Linked DNA regions of Homo sapiens: region 2 is linked to region 1. The links are contacts of gene promoters, found by promoter capture Hi-C in human tissues and cell types (Jung and others, 2019). All regions are on one chromosome and are shown on one strand. Each heading gives the region's core, a stretch centred on a gene start or on the middle of the fragment in contact. The rest is flanking DNA. Distances are from core to core; before and after follow the strand shown.

Evidence for each region. The method cuts DNA at HindIII sites, captures the fragments that hold promoters and counts their contacts. A contact is called where the count stands out against the background at its distance.
Region 2: a contact is called between a fragment that was not itself captured here and the fragment with the promoter of YKT6 in region 1, in 1 of the 25 tissues and cell types used here (spleen).

The regions. Positions count from the first base shown.
Region 1 is chr7:44,197,647-44,202,440 of GRCh38, reverse strand. YKT6 (YKT6 vesicular SNARE protein) reads right to left here and starts at 1,463. Exons shown (of 7, transcript NM_006555.4): 1 at 1,202-1,463. The coding sequence starts at 1,305. RefSeq lists a silencer at 1,287-1,356. The HindIII fragment of the contact is 4,070 bases long and covers 1-1,943 here.
Region 2 is chr7:43,913,258-43,918,068 of GRCh38, reverse strand. It overlaps a transcript of URGCP not described here. Among named protein-coding and RNA genes, the nearest start is that of URGCP-MRPS24, 9.1 kb to the right of the region's middle. The HindIII fragment of the contact is 8,195 bases long and covers 1-4,811 here.

The DNA of each region.
Region 1 (4,794 bases), core at 214-2,713:
GAAGGGAATGTGTTTAATAGACACGAATTTGATAAAAAGGAGTTCTGGAGACGATTGACAGTGATGGCTGCACAACACTATCAATCTATTTCATATCAATGCACTCACTACACGCTTAAAGATAGTGAAGATAAATTTTGTGTACCATTTTACCACAATTAAAAATATTTTTTTAAAAGAACTCAAAGAAGCAGAAAGTTTCAACAAAATAACATTTTTTTTTTTTTACATCCAGCAAGTCCTTGGCAAAGAACTCTCATCAAGAACCAGCTGCACTGAAGCAGGGAAAACAGAATCCAAACGGCAGATTCCATCAGATTTTGAGACAAGATGACCATAGATACCGACCATGTAGGGTCCTCCTTCTTTCGTGCCTGAGTCACCCCAATCCCTCCCACGAATGGTCTGGAAGTGTCTGTGTTACTTCTAACACGTTCCAGCAATTAAAGCGCCCCAGAAACAAGTAAAAGCCTGTAAGCCCTACAGATCCCATGCTTCATTTGCATCTTCCGTGTGGAATCCTTTTGTACCACTAGTGTCCAACTAAAAAGCGTTAAACCTGGCTTTCAGTTCTAGCTGGTTGTGATATAACCTCTTGGTACCTCAGTGACTTCACCCATTAAAAACAAACAAAAAAAAGTATATCACTATCTCTCATACAGAATTGTTGGGAAGCCCCGCAAGAAAATCAAAATATGGCTCTCAAGATGCGGCACCCAAGCTCCCAGAGTCAGAATCACTGGGTGGGAAGTGTTGGTCTAAAATATAAATACCGAGGCCTCAATCTACTAATTCAGAACATCTTGGCATGAAGCTTGGAAATCTGCACTACTTCACAGTCTCCTTAAAATTTTTACACGACAGAAATTTGAAAAACACTGAGTAGAGAACTATATTCTAGAATGGTATAAGCTCTTAAAGAGCTAATGTTGGTTCCTCAAAGGTAGAGTCCACGGCCAGATTCCATTATAGGAGACCAAGCCCGGACAGCAGACCCCGGGCCCTCCCCACCCCGCCCCGCCTCTGACTCGGACACCAGCCTTCTCAGACCCCGGGCACTCGGCCACCCCGCCCTGCCCCTACCCTTGGCCTCCTCCACCCTCCCCTCATCCCTCCGCCGACCCCAGGCCCACTCCGACTCGGACCCCCACCCCAGTCCTCTCCGCCCGACCGCCACGGCCCACCAGCCTGTGCCGCTCACCTGGATCTCTGGAAAAAGCTGAAGGAAGACACATCGTATGCGGCTTTGAGCAGCACCACCTTGGCCTCGCCTTTGTAGAGGACGCTGAGGCTGTACAGCTTCATGGCTCCGCGCCCTCAGGCCGCCCGCCTGCCCAGCTGCGGGACCCGTTCTCAGGGAGCAGCGCGGCCGCCGCCCCTCGGGACCGCCGCCGCCTACCGGCCTCTCAGCAGCCGGCTGCTGACGGGGCCACCGCCGGCTTCCTCCTCCTGGCTCGCAATCCACTTCCGGATCCGGTCAGCCTGGTTGAGGGTTCTCATACTCCGGATGCAGAAATGTGAGCCCGGAAGTACAATGCAGCGAGGGGCGGGATGCCACGCCTCGCGTAAGCTTGGCCCCTCCCTGCTCGCCAGGTGGAGTCGGGCGCGCGGCGGGATACCGTACTGTCTTGTGCTGGGTGGTGCTGGGCCTCCCACAGCGGCCTGAACCCTTCTTTTTTTTTTTTTTCTTTTCTTTCTTTTTTTAAAGTAAGCATTTTTTTTATTATTATACTTTAAGTTTTAGGGTACATGTGCACAACGTGCAGGTTTGTTACATATGTATACATGTGCCATGTTGGTGTGCTGCACCCATTAACTCGTCATTTAGCATTAAGTATATCTCCTAATGCTATCCCTCCCCCCTCCCCCCACCCCACAACAGTCCCCGGTGTGTGATGTTCGCCTTCCTGTGTCCATGTGTTCTTATTGTTCAATTCCCACCTATGAGTGAGAACATGCGGTGTTTGGTTTTTTGTCCTTGCAATAGTTTGCTGAGAATGATGGTTTCCAGCTTCATCCATGTCCCTACAAAGGACATGAACTCATCATTTTTTATGGCTGCATAGTATTCCATGGTGTATATGTGCCACATTTTAGGAGGAGCTTGTACCATTCCTTCTGAAACTATTCCAATCAAAAGAAAAAGAGAGAATCCTCCCTAACTCATTTTATGAGGCCAGCATCATCCTGATACCAAAGGGTGGCAGAGAGAGACACAACAAAAAAAGAATTTTAGACCAATATCCTTGATGAACATTGAAGCAAAAATCCTCAGTAAAATACTGGCAAACCGAATCCAGCAACACATCAAAAAGCTTATCCACCATGATCAAGTGGGCTTCATCCCTGGGATGCAAGGCTGGTTCAACATACGAAAATCAGTAAACGTAATCCAGCATATAAACAGAACCAAAGACAAAAACCACATGATTATCTCAATAGATGCAGAAAAGGCCTTTGACAAAATTCAACAACCCTCATGCTAAAAACTCTCAATAAATTAGGTATTGATGGGACGTATCTCAAAATAATAAGAGCTATCTATGACAAACCCACAGCCAATATCATACTGAATGGACAAAAACTGGAAGCATTCCCTTTGAAAACTGGCACAAGACTGGGATGCCCTCTCTCACCACTCCTTTTCAACATAGTGTTGGAAGTTCTGGCCAGGGCAATCAGGTAGGAGAAGGAAATAAAGGGTATTCAATTAAGAAAAGAGGAAGTCAAATTGTCCCTGTTTGCAGATGACATGATTGTATATCTAGAAAACCCCATCGTCTCAGCCCAAAATCTCCTTAAGCTGATAAGCAACTTCAGCAAAGTCTCAGGATACAAAATCAATGTGCAAAAATCACAAGCAGTCTTATACACCAATAACAGACAGAGAGCCAAATCATGAGTGAACTCCCATTCACAATTGCTTCAAAGAGAATAAAATACCTAGGAATCCAACTTACAAGGGATGTGAAGGACCTCTTCAAGGAGAACTACAAACGACTGCTCAATGAAATAAAAGAGGATACAAACAAATGGAAGAACATTCCATGCTCATGGGTAGGAAGAATCAGTATCGTGAAAATGGCCATACTGCCCAAGGTAATTTATAGATTCAATGCCATCCCTATCAAGCTACCAATGACTTTCTTCACAGAATTGGAAAAAACTAAAGTTCATATGGAACCAAAAAAGAGCCCGCATTGCCAAGTCAATCCTAAGCCAAAAGAACAAAGCTGGAGGCATCACACTACCTGACTTCTAACTATACTACAAGGCTACAGTAACCAAAACAGCATGCTACTGGTACCAAAACAGAGATATAGAGCAATGGAACAGAACAGAGCCCTCAGAAATAATGCCGCATATCTACAAGCATCTGATCTTTGACAAACCTGACAAAAACAAGCAATGGGGAAAGGATTCCCTATTTAATAAATGGTGCTGGGAAAACTGGCTAGCCATATGTAGAAAGCTGAAACTGGATCCCTTCCTTACACCTTATACAAAAATTAATTCAAGATGGATTAAAGACTTACATGTTAGACCTAAAACCATAAAAACCCTAGAAGAAAACCTAGGCAATACCATTCAGGACATAGGCATGGGCAAGGACTTCATGTCTAAAACACCAAAAGCAATGGCAACAAAAGCCAAAATTGACAAATGGGATCTAATTAAACTAAAGAGCTTCTGCACAGCAAAAGAAACTACCATCAGAGTGAACAGGCAACCTACAGAATGGGAGAAAATTTTTGCAACCTACTCATCTGACAAAGGGCTAATATCCAGAATCTACAATGAACTCAAACAAATTTACAAGAAAAAAACAAACAACCCCATCAACAAATGGGCGAAGGATATGAACAGACACTTCTCAAAAGAAGACATTTATGTAGCCAAAAAACACATGAAAAAATGCTCATCATCACTGGCCATCAGAGAAATGCAAATCAAAACCACAATGAGATACCATCTCACACCAGTTAGAATGGTGATCATTAAAAAGTCAGGAAACAACAGGTGCTGGAGAGGATGTGGAGAAATAGGAACACTTTTACACTGTTCGTGGGACTGTAAACTAGTTCAACCATTGTGGAAGTCAGTGTGGCGATTCCTCAGGGATCTAGAACTGGAAATACCATTTGACCCAGCCATCCCATTACTAGGTATATACCCAAAGGATTATAAATCATGCTGCTATAAGGACACATGCACACGTATGTTTATTGTGGCACTGTTCACAATAGCAAAGACTTGGAACCAACCCAAATGAACCCTTCTTTTTGCTTGCGTTGTTGAAAGAAGGCAAGTCTATGGATAGGAATGAGTGAGGCACAGCTCCCTGAGGATGCCATATCTTGCCCGTTTCTTGTGTATTAAGTGACATCACGTGTTACCAAACTAAACCGGCTGCATTTGCCTGCGCACAACATAAAACCAAACACCCAAGCATTGGATTTTTGTAGCAAGAAAGATGTATTGCCAAGCAGCCTTGCAAGGGGACAGAAGACGGGCTCAAATCTGTCTCCCAATACTTGCTTCGCAGCAGTAGATTTAAGGGAGAGATTTTGGAAGTGGAGTTTCGGGCTGGACGGTGATTGGCTGAAACGAAGAAGTGTTTAGAAAATCTCTTGGTCATGAGCTGTTGCTTCTTCATGCTGCTTCAAGGGTCACATGCAGATTCAGGAGGTGGTATAAAACAAGCTGTGGGAATTTGGGCTGTGACATCAAAGGGCCGCTCCTCGGGCTAGTAAGTCTATTTTGCACAGGCTCCAGTCAGCCATATTGGTTCCA
Region 2 (4,811 bases), core at 106-2,605, 280 kb after region 1:
CTCCTGACCTCAAGTGATCCACTTGCCTCAGCCTCCCAAAGTGCTGGGATTACAGGCGTGAACCACTATGCCCAGCTGTGTTTTTTGTTTTGTTTTGTTTTGTTTTTTGAGACGGTCTTGCTCTGTCACCCAGGCTGGAATACAGGGCACAATCATGGCTCACTGCAGCCTCAACCTCCTGGATTCAAGCAACCCTCCCTCCTCAGCTTCCTGGGTAGCTGGGACTACATGCCACCATGCCCAGCCAATTTTTTATTTTTTATAGAGACAGGGTCTCACTATGTTGCTGGAATATAGGCATGAGCCACCACACCTGGCCAAGAAAATCCTTTTAAATCCTTTATTACCCAACATTAGCCATGCCAAGCAGCCAATATTTCTGGCTTCTGAACATTACCAAAGGTAACCTCCCAGGTGTTCAGAGAAAGGAAAATTTAAGGTGGTTCATGAAGGGGAAGAGAATCAACAAATGATAAAGGTCACAAAGATATCAAGCCAGAAAGGACTCATTCCCTAAGCCAGGATTGAACCCGGGCTGCCACTGTAAAATGGCAGAAGCTAAAACAAAGCACTGCCATGTGGTTACAGGTCACGCTTCCAAGGACGTAAAACCAGATGGAGGCCTGCAGCAAAGTTTGCCACTGGCCAGTTTGCTGGGCTTGCTTCAACAGCAGGCCTATGGAGTCCTAGACCCACATCCCATCCCAAGGTACCCCTCTTTCTGACAGAACTATACGGAGAGACATGCAGAGCACACCAGCTTGGCTACAGCTTAAGACCAACCTCACAAATCCTTTTTTATTAATTAAAACTTTACAGATAATATAAACAGTGATCCTTATCATTCCCTTTCTGGTTTGTTTAGGGAGACAGAGGTCAAAATCCTGACTGGTTAAAACAAAAAACAAAAAAACTCCTACCCTTTTGCTGACATGTCAGGCTTCTGAGTTCCCTCCCTGCTGAGCTCAATCCCAAGCCAACCAGTTTAAGGTTTAGGAAATTAACTTCTCCCAGTTTGGAGGATACATCCCAGGAGAGCATCCCACAGCATGGGGACACAATCACCCATCTGTAAAGAGAGGACAGAGGAGGAGAAAGGAATAAGAAGGCATTTATTTAAAGGAGCCCCAGGACTCAGGATGCATTTGAAAGATGTATGCCTACTCATCTAGAAAGAGGGGAGCAAGGCGTCCCTGGTTCCCTTCTCTTCCTAGCAAATACCCGAGGTACATGAGGGAGAGAAAGCAAGGCGTCCCTCTTTCTTTTGTCCTTGTATCCCTGAGTCCCGGCAACCATGACAGGATGCCTCCCATGGGTGTCAAAGTGGCTTTCACCCATGTTATGTGGGGGGGGGGGGTGGGTAGGGAGTGGGATTATCTGCTCTTACCCATATATGCCTTATCTTCTCTGTTGTCAATAGCCTTTGCATTCCCTAGACCTCATTTATGCCATGGATACTAGCATGACCTTTATCCATGAAATGAGGCTTGGCTTAATCCGCAGAAATTAGTCATGCTTACCTGTGCTGTACCTTTTCACTTCTGTTGTCGTCTGCCTCTGGATCCCTCAGATCCAGTTTTCTTTCCTAGGGCTTCGATCCAAAGCTTGGAATTGAGTTTGGGTCAAAATAACTGCCTCAGGATGTTGCATGGACTCCTTACCAAGCTGAATGCTAAGGTCAAGCTGTGGAATTGAGTCCTTCTCCAACAAGGGAGAGAAAAGGGGTGTCTTCTGAGTTGGGATCCTGGCTGAGTAAAACATCTTCTAAAAGGAAAAAAGCCTGTAGCGTAGAGAAGCCCCCTCTACTTGCAGGGCCATGTTATTGGGTTGGTGCAAAAACAGTCACAGTCCTCGCCGTTCTAAGTAATAGCAAAAACTGCAACTACTTTTGCACCAACCTATTCCTGGCCTGGTGGAGAAAAGGAAAAGAAAAACAGCGTAAATGCAGGGCTTTGTTAACTGCTGACAGGATGGAGAAAAGAAAAAGATGCCCGGAGAACAAACCTTTTATTCTTATGCAAATGAGTTTCTCCAACAGGGAGAGAAACTTTTTTTTTTTAAGATGGAGTTTCACTGTTGTTGCCCAGGCTGCAGTGCAGTGGCACAATCTTGGCTCACTCCAGCCTCCACCTCCCAGGTTCAAGTGATTCTCCTGCCTCAGCCTCCCGAGTAGCTGAGATTACAGGTGCATGCCACCATGCCCGGCTAATTTTTGTATTTTTAGTAGAGACGGGGTTTCACCATGTTGGCCAGGCTAGTCTCAAACTCCTGACCTCAGGTGATCTGCCCGCCTCAGCCTCCCAAAGTGCTGGGATTACAGGCATGAGCCATTGCGCCTGGCCAAGAAACTTTTAATTGCTGTTTCTACCCTGGGGTTTGGACTGAGCTGGACCCCTCAGCAGGAGGAGGGGAAGACTCCATGGTATGTGGTGTGGAACACTGGACAGACAGCTGCATGGGGCCCTTGGGCCATGAGCCCCAGCCCCAGCTGGGAGGGGCAGGGAGCCACCACTTGCCTGTCCGTCCCATGCATGCATCTGCAGCCATTGAGGTGGGGGTGGAATACCCCCAATATTGTAAAAGATAAGTGCCATTACAGTCCTGCAAACAGAAGGAAAATGCCATAGAAAAGGCTGAGTTGGACCAAGGCTGACATTCCCAGTCCCTGAGAGCAATGGGGTGAGGGGGTGCAGTTTCCTCTATCCTCAGAAGAAGGCTGAGGACAAGAAAGCTCAAAAAGGAAAGGGAAACAGATTTTTTTGGTGTGCATTTTACTCATCCCTCCTCATGTCCCTGTATGGGCCACCAAAATGATGCAGGATTTTTTGCTCCTTAGCTCCACTAAATCTGGGTTCTTGTCTCACAACTAGGAAAAATTAGGCACACAGACACCTGTGAAAGGTGAGGAGAGCAGAATTTATTAAAAGAAAGCTCTCATCTCAGCAAAAAAGAGAGGGTCCTGCCAACAGGCTCCCACCTCACAGATTGAATACCAGGCCAACACACATGAGCTGAAGAGGCCAGGCTCCTCTCCCAGCATAAGGGGTGAATTCCTGGTGGCTCCACCCCCATTCTTCAGTGCGCATGCGGGCCGTTAGTCTGAGCCACTCCACATTGATTTCCCTTACTGCATTTGTGTTAAGGGACAGAATTTTTCACCATGGGCATGTTTAGGGAAGTACCCTGTGCACCATGACCTGTGCGGCATATGGCTGTCTCCTATCTCTATCAGTAGTATCAGTAAAGAGATAGAAAACCTACAAAGAAACCGAAAAATAATTCTGGAGCTGAAAAGTATAATAACAAATAAAAAATGCACTGGAGGGATTCAAAGCAAATTTGAACAGAGAAAAGAATCTGTGAACTTGGAGATAGAACAATGGAAATTACCAAATCTGAGGAACAAAACCATCTGGGGATGCAGTCCAGTAGGTCTCAGCCTTATTTTACTCAGCCTCTATTCAAGATGGAGTTGCTGTGATTCAAATGCCTCTAACACAAGTGAGATGAACTCAGAGAGGAGATCCACACTGACACATAATTAAACTCTTATTTTTTATTTTTTTGAGACACTCTCATCCTGCCACCCAGGCTGGAGTACAGTGGTATGATCTTGGCTCACTGCAACCTCCATCTCCCAGGCTCAAGAGATGCTCTCACCTCAGGCACCCAAGTAGTTAGGACTACAGACATGCATTAGCATACCCGGCTAAATTTTTTTTGAGGGTGGTTAGAGATGCGGTTTTACCATGTTTCCCAGGCTGATCTCAAGCTCCTGGGCTCAAGCAATCCACCCCACCTCAGCCTCCCAAAGTGCTGGGATTACAGGTGTGAGCCACCACACCCAGCCATAATTAAACTTTCAAAAGCCACCCTGGCAAAACCCGTCTCTACAAAACATACAAAAATTAGCCAGGTGTGGTGGCAAGCACCTGTAGTACCAGCTACTTAGGGAGCTGAGGCCAAAGGATTGCTTGAGCCCAAGAAATCAGCTTGAGCTAATATCACGCCACTGCACTCCAGCCTGAGTGACAGAGCAAGATAGTCTCTATAAAAAAACAAATAAAATAGGCCAGGTGCAGTGGCTCACACCTATAATACCAGGACTTTGGTAGGCCAAGGCAGGTGGATCACTTGAGGGTAGGAGTTCAAGACCAGCCTGGCCAACATGGTAAAAACCTGTTTCTACTAAAAATACAAAAATTAGCTGGGCGTGGTGATGTGCACCTGTAGTCCCAGCTACTTGGAAGGCTGAGGCAGGAGAATCACTTGAACTAGGGAGGCGGAGGTTGCAGTGAGCCAAGATCATGCCACTGCACTCCAGCCTGGGCAACAGAGCGAGATTCCATCTCAAAAATAAATAAATAAATGAAATAAAATAAAACTTTCGAAAGCCAAAAACAGAGAATCTTGAAAGTGTGAAGAGAGAAGTGATTCATCATATTTAAGGGCTCTTTAATAAGATTATCAGCAGATTTCTCATGAGAAACTTTTAAGGCTAGCAGGCAGTGGGGTGATATATTTAAAGTGCTTAAAGAAAATAACTGTCAGGGCCAGGTGCGGTGGTTCACGCCTATAATCCCAGCACTTTGGGAGGCCGAGGCAGGCAGATCACAAGGTCAGGAGATGAAGACCATCCTGGCTAACACGGTGAAACCCCGTCTCTACTAAAAATAAAAAATAAAAAAAAAAAATAGCCGGGAGTGGTGGCAGGCGCCTGTAGTCCCAGCTACTCAGGAGGCTGAGGCAGGAGAATGGTGTGAACCCAGGAGGCGGAGCTTGCAGTGAGCCGAGTTCGCGCCACTGCACTC